2 separate regions of the Homo sapiens genome follow, and region 2 is linked to region 1. The links are contacts of gene promoters, found by promoter capture Hi-C in blood cells and fetal thymus (Javierre and others, 2016). All regions are on one chromosome and are shown on one strand. Each heading gives the region's core, a stretch centred on a gene start or on the middle of the fragment in contact. The rest is flanking DNA. Distances are from core to core; before and after follow the strand shown.

Evidence for each region. Contacts are between HindIII fragments. The CHiCAGO score rates a contact against its expected background, and 5 or more counts as called.
Region 2: the fragment with the promoter of SLC38A5 here is called in contact with the fragment with the promoter of ZNF157 in region 1 in 2 of 17 cell types (neutrophils and monocytes); the score reaches 5.8 in neutrophils.

The regions. Positions count from the first base shown.
Region 1 is chrX:47,368,382-47,373,088 of GRCh38, forward strand. ZNF157 (zinc finger protein 157) reads left to right here and starts at 2,197. Exons shown (of 4, transcript NM_003446.4): 1 at 2,197-2,359. The coding sequence starts at 2,288. The HindIII fragment of the contact is 3,930 bases long and covers 1,747-4,707 here.
Region 2 is chrX:48,469,010-48,472,792 of GRCh38, forward strand. It overlaps SLC38A5 (solute carrier family 38 member 5), which reads right to left and starts at 1,251. Exons shown (of 17, transcript NM_033518.4): 1 at 1,173-1,251; 2 at 326-427. The HindIII fragment of the contact is 10,592 bases long and covers 1-3,783 here.

The DNA.
Region 1 (4,707 bases), core at 947-3,446:
TTTCGTTTTCATTTCTTCCCAATGTTCATGTTCACCCTAATTATTATTTTCTTTTTTCTTTCTGCCTTTTTTTCTTTTTCTTTTTCTTTTTTTTTTTTTTTGTTTTGTTTTGTTTTGTTTTTGGGGTGGAGTCTTGCTCTGTCACCCAGGCTGAAGTGCAGTGGCGTGATCTCGGCTCACTGCAGTCTCTGCCTCCCGAGTTCAAGCAATTTTCCTGCCTCAGCCTCCTGAGTAGCTGGGATTACAGGTGTGTGCCACCATGTCCAGCTAATTTTTGTGTTTTTAGTAGACACGGGGTTTCACCATCGTCTTGAACTCCTGACCTGCTGACCTCAGGTGATCAGCCTGCCTTGGCCTACCAAAGTGCTGGGATTACAGGCGTGAGCCGCCTCCTCTGGCCTCTTTTTTTTTTCTTTAATAGAAACAAAGTGTCACTCTGTCATCCAGGCTGGAGTGTAGTGGAGTGATCTCAATGCACTGCAACTCTGTGTGTGTGTTTTTGTTTGTTTGTTTGTTTTTTAAGGATACTGGGTTTTGCCATGTTGTCCAGGTTAGTTTTGAACACCTGGGCTCAAGGGATCCTCTTGCTTTGGCCTCCCAAAGTGTTGGGATTAAAGCCGTGAGCCACTGCACCTGGCCTGATTATTTATTTCTTTTCTCTTCTTTTCTCCTTTCTTCCCTCCTTCCTTCCTTCCTTCCTTCCATCCTTCCTTCCTCTCTTTCTTTCTTTCTTTCTTTCTTTCTTTCTTTCTTTCTTTCTTTCTTTCTTTCTTTCTTTCTCTCTTTCTCTCTTTCTTTTTCTTTCTCTTTTAGAGACAAAGTCTTGCTCTGTCACCCAGGCTGGAGTGCAGTGGCGCCATCAGAGGTCACTGCAGCCTCAACCTCTCAGGCTTCTTAAGCTATCCTTCTGCTTCAGCTTCCTTAGTAGCTGGCACTACAGGTGTGGACCACCACACTCGGATTATTTTATTTCTTGTAAAGACAGCGTCTCACTTTGTTGCCAAGGCTGGTTTCGAACTCCTGGACTCAAGCAACCCTCCTGTCTTGGCCTCCCAAAGTTCTGAGATTACAGGCATGAGCCACTGTGCCCAGCCCACTCTATTTCATCTTCTCTTGTGTGAGCTAGAGCCCACAAAACAATTTTGGGTTATAGCAGACAGTACTAATTTTGTGGCAATAGCTTCATCATTTTACTTTTTAGCATGGTGTTTCAGAGTTATGTTTCATAATTGATTTTTGTGGCACTTAAGTTATTTACTTTTTCCATGATTTTAGTTTGAGCTTATATTAGTAATGGCTGCTGAATTGCGTTGGATGCTTTTTTGGTGTAAGTTAACAGCAGAGTGTTTCCCTCTGTAATTTGTTGATGTAATACATAACATTAGGCCTGGTGCAGTGGCTCACACCTGTAATCCCAGCACTTTGGGAGGCCAAGGCGGGAGGATCACTTGAGGTCAGGAGTTCGAGACCAGCCTGACCAACATAGTGAAAACCCGTCTCTACTAAAAATACAAACATTAGCTGGGCGTGGTGGCGGGCGCCTGTAATCCCAGCCACTAGGGAGGCTGAGGCAGGAGAATCCCTTGAACCTGGGAGGCGGAGGTTGCTGTGAGCTGAGATCGCACCATTCCACTGCAGCCTGGGTGACAAGAGTGAAACTCCATCTCAAAAAAAAAAAAAAAAAAAAGAAAAAATACATAACATTATTAAGATTGAACCATTTTTTTCTGGAAAGAAGAGGCTAAAAGCTTCCCAGTAAAAGAATTTAAGAGGGATATTTCATCTAAGAGTGGAAAAAAACAAAAGACGGCAGAAGAAAGGACCAGCCGATTTCCTTTCATTTAGATTATCAGCTTTCCAGGTTTCCTGCCCTCACAGTCACCCACCAGGTCCCCTTGAACCTGCCCACCCCATGGGCCTTAAGCACCCTTAAGCACTGCCCCAGTTCTACTTCTCCTAAACCCAGATCTGCCTTGAACTTGAACTGAGGTGTAGGCTGGCTGAGTAGCGAGTGAAGCACCTGGTAGAGCCACTCAAGAAGGGACCCCAAGCTCATTAATTTGGCCCCAAATTTGATCATTTTGTAATCCACCTTGACTCATGCTCTGGGGATGCTGAACATTGTGGCGTGAATGTGGGATGACACTGATGATATGGATACTGTCCTTTTAGGATTTCTTGGTGTCTCTGTGGAGCCATTGAGCCTTACCCCTTACTGGAGGCTGCAGGACCCTCTACACACAGACAGCTGTCCAGCACGGAAGGTGGGCTGAGGCCCAGGGTGAACATGCCAGCTAATGGGACATCACCCCAGAGATTCCCTGCCCTGATTCCAGGAGAACCTGGCAGATCTTTTGAGGTAAGGAGGAGGATCCTATTTTTTTCTATATGTTCTTTATTTTTTTATTTATTTTTAGTTAAATTTATATTTTGAGATAATTGTAGATTCAAATGCAATGTACCATTTACCTAGTTTTTGTCCCCAGTAGTAACATCTCGTAATACCCAGGATATTGACATGCAGAGCATTTCCATCCCCACAAGGATCCCCCATGTTGTCATTAAATAGACACAACCACTTCACTTCCTCCATCACTCCCCTCTTAACCCTGGGGCACCACCAATCTGTTCTCCAATACTATAATTTTTTCATTTCAAGAATGTTGTGGCTGGACGTGGTGGCTCACGCCTGTCACCTGTAATCCCAGCACTTTGGGAGGCCGAGGCGGGTGGATCACTTGCGGCCAGGAGTTTGAGACCAGCCTGGCCAACATAGTGAAACCCTGTTTGTACTAAAAATACAAAAATTAACCAGGTGTTGTGGCACGCACCTGTACTCCCAGCTACTCGGGAGGTTGAGACCGGAAAATCGCTTGAACCTGGAGGCGGAGGTTGCAGTAAGCCAAGATCGTGCCACTGCACTCTGCCTGGGTGACAGAGTGAGACCCTGTCTCAAAAAAAAAAAAAAGTTTTATTTGCCGGGCATGGCAGCTCATGCCTGTAATCCCAGCTCTTAGGGAGGCAGAAGCAGGAGGATAGTTTGAGCCTAGGAGTTTGAGACCTGCCTGGGCAATATAGTGAGACCCTGTTCTCCACAAAAAGGAAAAAAAGGACAAAAAAGAGAGACTGTTATATTAATCAGATTGTACAGTATGTACCTTTTGGGACTGGCTTTCGTCATTCAGCAAAATTCTGTGGAGATATCAATAGCTAACAGTATATCAATAGTTCATTCATTTTTTTTGAGACAGAGTCTTGCCCTGTCACCCAGGCTGGACTGCAATGGCGTGATCTTGGCTCACTGCAACCTCTGCTTCCCGGGTTCAAGCTATTCTCCTGCCTCAGCCTCCCGAGTAGCTGGTATTACAAGTGCGTGCCACCACACCTGGCTAATTTTTTGTATCTTTAGTAGAGACGGGGTTTCACCATGTTGGCCAGGCTGGTCTTGAACTCCTGACCTCGTGATCCACCTGCCTCAGCCTCCCAAAGTGCTGGGATTACAGGCGTAAGCCACCGTGCCCTGCCCATTCCTTTTATTGCTGATACTTTTCCATCGCATGGATGTACCAAACAGTATAACCATTCACTGGTTGAAAGACATCTTGGTTGTTTCTAGTTGTTGGATATTATGAATAAAGATCCTATAATAGTTTGTGTAAGGTTTTTGTAGGGGTGTGATACTGTGAAATATATAATTGGTCTTTCCTGGCAAACAACTCCTAATATCCTCGGAATCTCTAAAGTACTAAAGTGTCTTTTTGTATGCTAATGAGTTGACTGATGCCTGGCAGTCCCTAGGCAGCTTCCGAATGGGGCTGGTCACCAGAAAGACTAAGGTAGGTTTAGAGGGTTGGGACCCTCCAACCACCTGGGAGGGGAGAGGGTGCTGAGAGTCAAGTCGATCCACAAGGGCAAATGATTTAATCAATCATGCCTACATAATGAAGCCCCCCTAAAGCCCCAAAAGGATAAAGTCTGGAGAGCTTCTGGGTAGCCGAACACATGGGGGTTCCTGGAGGGTGGTGCACCCAGAGAGCGCATGAAGACTCCAGGCCCCTTCCCACATGCCTTGCCCTATGTATCTCTTTATTTGGCTGTGATTTATTTGTATTCTTTTTTTTTTTTTTTTTGAGATGGAGTTTCGCTCTTGTTGCACAGGCTGGAGTGCAATGGCGTGATCTTGGCTCACTGCAAACTCCACCTCCTGGATTCAAGTGATTCTCCTGCCTCAGCCTCCCAAGTAGCTGGGATCACAGGCATATGCCACCACGCCCAGCTAATTTTGTATTTTTAGTAGAGATGAGGTTTCTCCATGTTGGTCAGGCTGGTCTCAAACTCCCGACCTCAGGTGATCCACCTGCCTTGGCCTCCAAAAGTGCTGGGATTACTGGTGTGAGCCACCATGCCCGGCCTGAATTTGTATTCTTTAAAATATCCTTTATTGGTGGGAGAGGCCGGAGAATTGCTTGAGTTCAGGAATTCAAGACCAGCCTGGGCAACAAAGTGAGACCTCATTACTACAAAAAATAAAGCTCAGGTGGGGCACGGTGGCTCATGCCTGTAATTCCAGCACTTTGGGAGGCCGAGGTGGGAGGATCGCTTGAGGTCAGGAGTTCAAGACTAGCCTGACCAACATGATAAAACCTCATCTCTACTAAAAATACAAAATTTAGCTGGGTGTGGTGGCGGGCACCTGTAATCCAGCTA
Region 2 (3,783 bases), core at 1-2,500, 1.1 Mb after region 1:
CTCAGAAACCCCCATTCAAGGTCCCCATTAGAGCTCAAACTGGCTCAGGAAATCCTTTTCCCAAGTCCTGAATCCCGTTCCTGGGACAGGGAGGGTCTCAAGGAGTCCCATCCCCCACCACCAGCACCCTCCGGAGCCTCCCACCCACACCTGAATTCACTTCCTGGGATCAGGGTACAAAAAGGACCTCCCCATACACGCCATTCCATTCCCCACTAGTGCTAAAATGTCTCCAAGGAACCCCGAGCCCCCTCCCAGGACCCCTACTCATATCTCAGGCCCCCAGGAACACCATCCCCGCAGCCCACGCTCCCTCCTCACCTACCTGCTCCTCTCAGCTCCTGAAGTGGCCGCAACTCAGACTCAGGTTCGGGCACCCTCTCGGCTGCCTAGGCTCCTGCTCTGGAGCGGTACTTTTTTTTTTTTCCTGAGAAGAAATGTTAATTTTAATTTCGTTTCCCTCCTTCTGGCCCTGGGCGGGGGAAGAGGTGGAGAAGGGGCGCCCCCTATCTGGACCCACTTGGAGGGAGACAGCGGTTTGTTTGTGTGTTGATGGTGGGGGAAATGGCCTGAAAGATTGAGGGTGTAGACCCACAGCTAGAGAGAGTGACAGGCAGACAGAGGGGATGGACTCACAGAGCAGACGGACAGCAGGATGGGATGGATGGCAGAAAAAGGTGCAGAGAGGAGACAGAGAGAGAGTAGGAGAACTGAAGTTACAAAGAAAGCAGGCATGAGAAACAGCACAGGAACAGACAGACCACAGAAGGGACAGAAAGACAGATGGGCGGGAGGAGGGGATGCTAGGGGAGCTTGGAAGACAGGCAGAGACAGGGAGAAAGGGACACACAGGCAGACTCAGAAACAAACAGGTGGGTAGGGATAGGCTCGTGGAAACACCTGCAGAAAGGCAACAGGCAATTGGGCTCAGTCATAGACAGGAGACACAGGCTGGCCAAGAGGTGGGGGACAGAGCCAGACAGCTCCCCAAACAGAGGGTAGGACCAGACACACCAGCTCAGAGAGATGAAGGGGCAGAGAGAGTGGTTGAGGCAGAGAGACTCCTGGAGGGACAGGAGAAAAGAGGCAGAGAGAGGCAGATTCAGGCAGAGAGGCCTGGGGACAGCAGGGGAACAGGTGCAGGGGTAGTAGCCAGGCTATTCCAGGCAGACCTCAGGCAGACAGCCTAGGCACGAGAGGACCCTAGATCTTGGGGGCCCCCAGAGGGAGGCAGGGAGGGCATTTGTGGCTGGGTGGGGAATGTGGACTGTGAACTCACACTGTCCGCAAACTGGGCGGGCACTGTAGTCCTGGACCCCACCCCAAGCGTGGGGTGGGGCTTGTCCAAGCCCTGAGAAGTCCCACTATCTGTCTGTCCGTCTGTCTTCTATGGGAGTCCGTCTGTTCACTCCCCTCCAGGCATATGACAGGCATGCCTGTCCCAGGCAAGCCACGTGTCCGCTACAGGATGTCAGGCAGGGTGGACTTGGGGTCTGGGACCACCTCGACTGGGCTGCTTGAAGCCCAGGTGGACAAGAGGCCTCTGTCTGGGCCCCTCGCCCGCCTGCCCACCCCCGACAGGGAACACAGAATTCCCGGAAAGGCCAGGAGCTGGCTGGGGCTTCAAAGCTGGCCTAGATGCCCTCACCCCACCCACAGTTGGAGGAGGACAAGGGATGGGGCGTTTACTTCCCCACAGCGGGAGAGAGACTCCTGCACACTCAGGAATCGCAGCTACACAACAGGACCCATCACAGCCCCATCAAGGGGCTCAGATACGGGGGCCAACTCGCCATCACTCACAGAGGTGCACAAAGACTCACAGCCACACAAGAGAATAAAGACTGACAGACATGAACACACACAGACTCACCACTGCACGTTAAGAGCAATGGCTCATGGGACAGTCACACACGTGGCCACACAGAGTGACGATAGTCTTACAGCTATCAATACCGACAGGCTCAGAGCCGCTCACAGAGAGCACAGACTAACACAGGGATAGGCTTGTGCCGATTTCCAGACACTCGAGACTCCTGAACCTCACCGCCCGTGGACCCACAGCCATGCCAAAGACAATCAACAGGCAAATCACACACACAGATTCACAGCCACACACAGAGCACACAATTACACACAGCTGATGACATTGTGTGTGGGTCCTGGGTCTTTCCCACACACACGATCCAGGTTCAGATGGCCCTGGATCTGAACCTGAATCCAGGTTCAGATGACCCTGGAGGCAAACTTCCAGGTTCAAGCCCTAAAATGATATCTCTGTGTATGTGAACTTGAATGTGCACTTGTGACCACATGTAACCACATACAGCTCCAGTCACAGAGAGAGGCACTCATAGGCTGACATGATTTTTGTACAAACAGAAAAGCCATAGTCTCCTTCTCTCTCTCTCTCCTCTCTCTCTCTCTCTCACACACACACACACACACAACTGCATTTCAGCAAATGGCTGCACACAGCCGTGTACACACACAGCTAGTCACAAATCAAGTCAGAAAAGAAACATATAGGGAAAGCATATACCTGCACACAAACACAAAGCACAGGAATGCAGAGTACGCTTACTATCGTTGCAAAGAAAAAATCCAGAAACCACACTGAAAGCTACACAAGGAAAAAACAAGAGAACCAGATAGTACTCATACCATGGCACCAGAAGAAACACCCCGAGGGCACACATACCTGCAGCCACTCGCTAAGAAGAGACACAAATACAGCAGCAGACACACAAAGAAAGATACGTGCGCATAGATACACATATAGGAGGGACAAGTACTCTGACACACTTGTCACCCACGACCATTACAAAGGAGACAAACACCCAAGCAACACACACACACAACAACATATAGATGAACTGCACCGACAGACAGTACCAATGCACACGGTTGCCAAAAAAAAAAAAAAAAAAAAGGTATGAGTTGGGCCGGGTGCAGTGGTTCATGCCTGTAATCCCAGCACTTTGGGAGGCCAAGGTGAGTGAATCATGAGGTCAGTAGTTCGAGACCAGCCTGGCCAACGTGGCGAAACCCCGTCTCTACTAAAAATACAAAAAAAATTAGCTGGGCGTGGTGGCGGGTTCCTGTAATCCCAGCTACTCGGGAGGCTGAGGCAAGAGAATTGCTTGAACCTGGAAGGCGGAGGTTGCAGTGAGCCAAGATCGCGCCACTGCACTCCGGCCCAAGCGACAGAGTGAGACTCCATCTCAAAAAAAAAAAAAAAAAAAAGCACAAGTTTGGCAGGCGGCCATAGACAGAACGCAGCACCAGGCAAGTTACATAGGAAGACGCAGGCACAGCTCACATACGTGTGGCTGTGGCTGAGAACGGGCAGGTGAGATACACTCAGCATATTCACACACACGTGCGCACACACTCCTGCCCAACCTCCTCCAGCCTCTGTCTCCTTTCCTATCTACTCTGATTTCTCTCTCCCCTCATACCCCTCCCCCACCCAGAGCCATTACACATCTGTGCTACCAGCTGGCCAGGGAAAGAGACACCTGTCACTAGAGGCTTTGACCCAGATGGCTAAAGGTCGGGGGGTGGGGGGGATGCAGGTATCCATATTTCAAGTCTGAAGTGTCCCGTCCAAATAACTAGCATACTTTATTTGGATTTAAAAAAAAAAAAAAAAGACAACCCCCCTCCCCTCTGCATCCATTCGCCGCCTCCCTGCCACAGCCTCCTGCTCTGATTGCTCCCCTTCCCTCCCAGGGCCTGCCTCTACTGGCCTTCCAACATGGACCAACACAGGGCTACCAG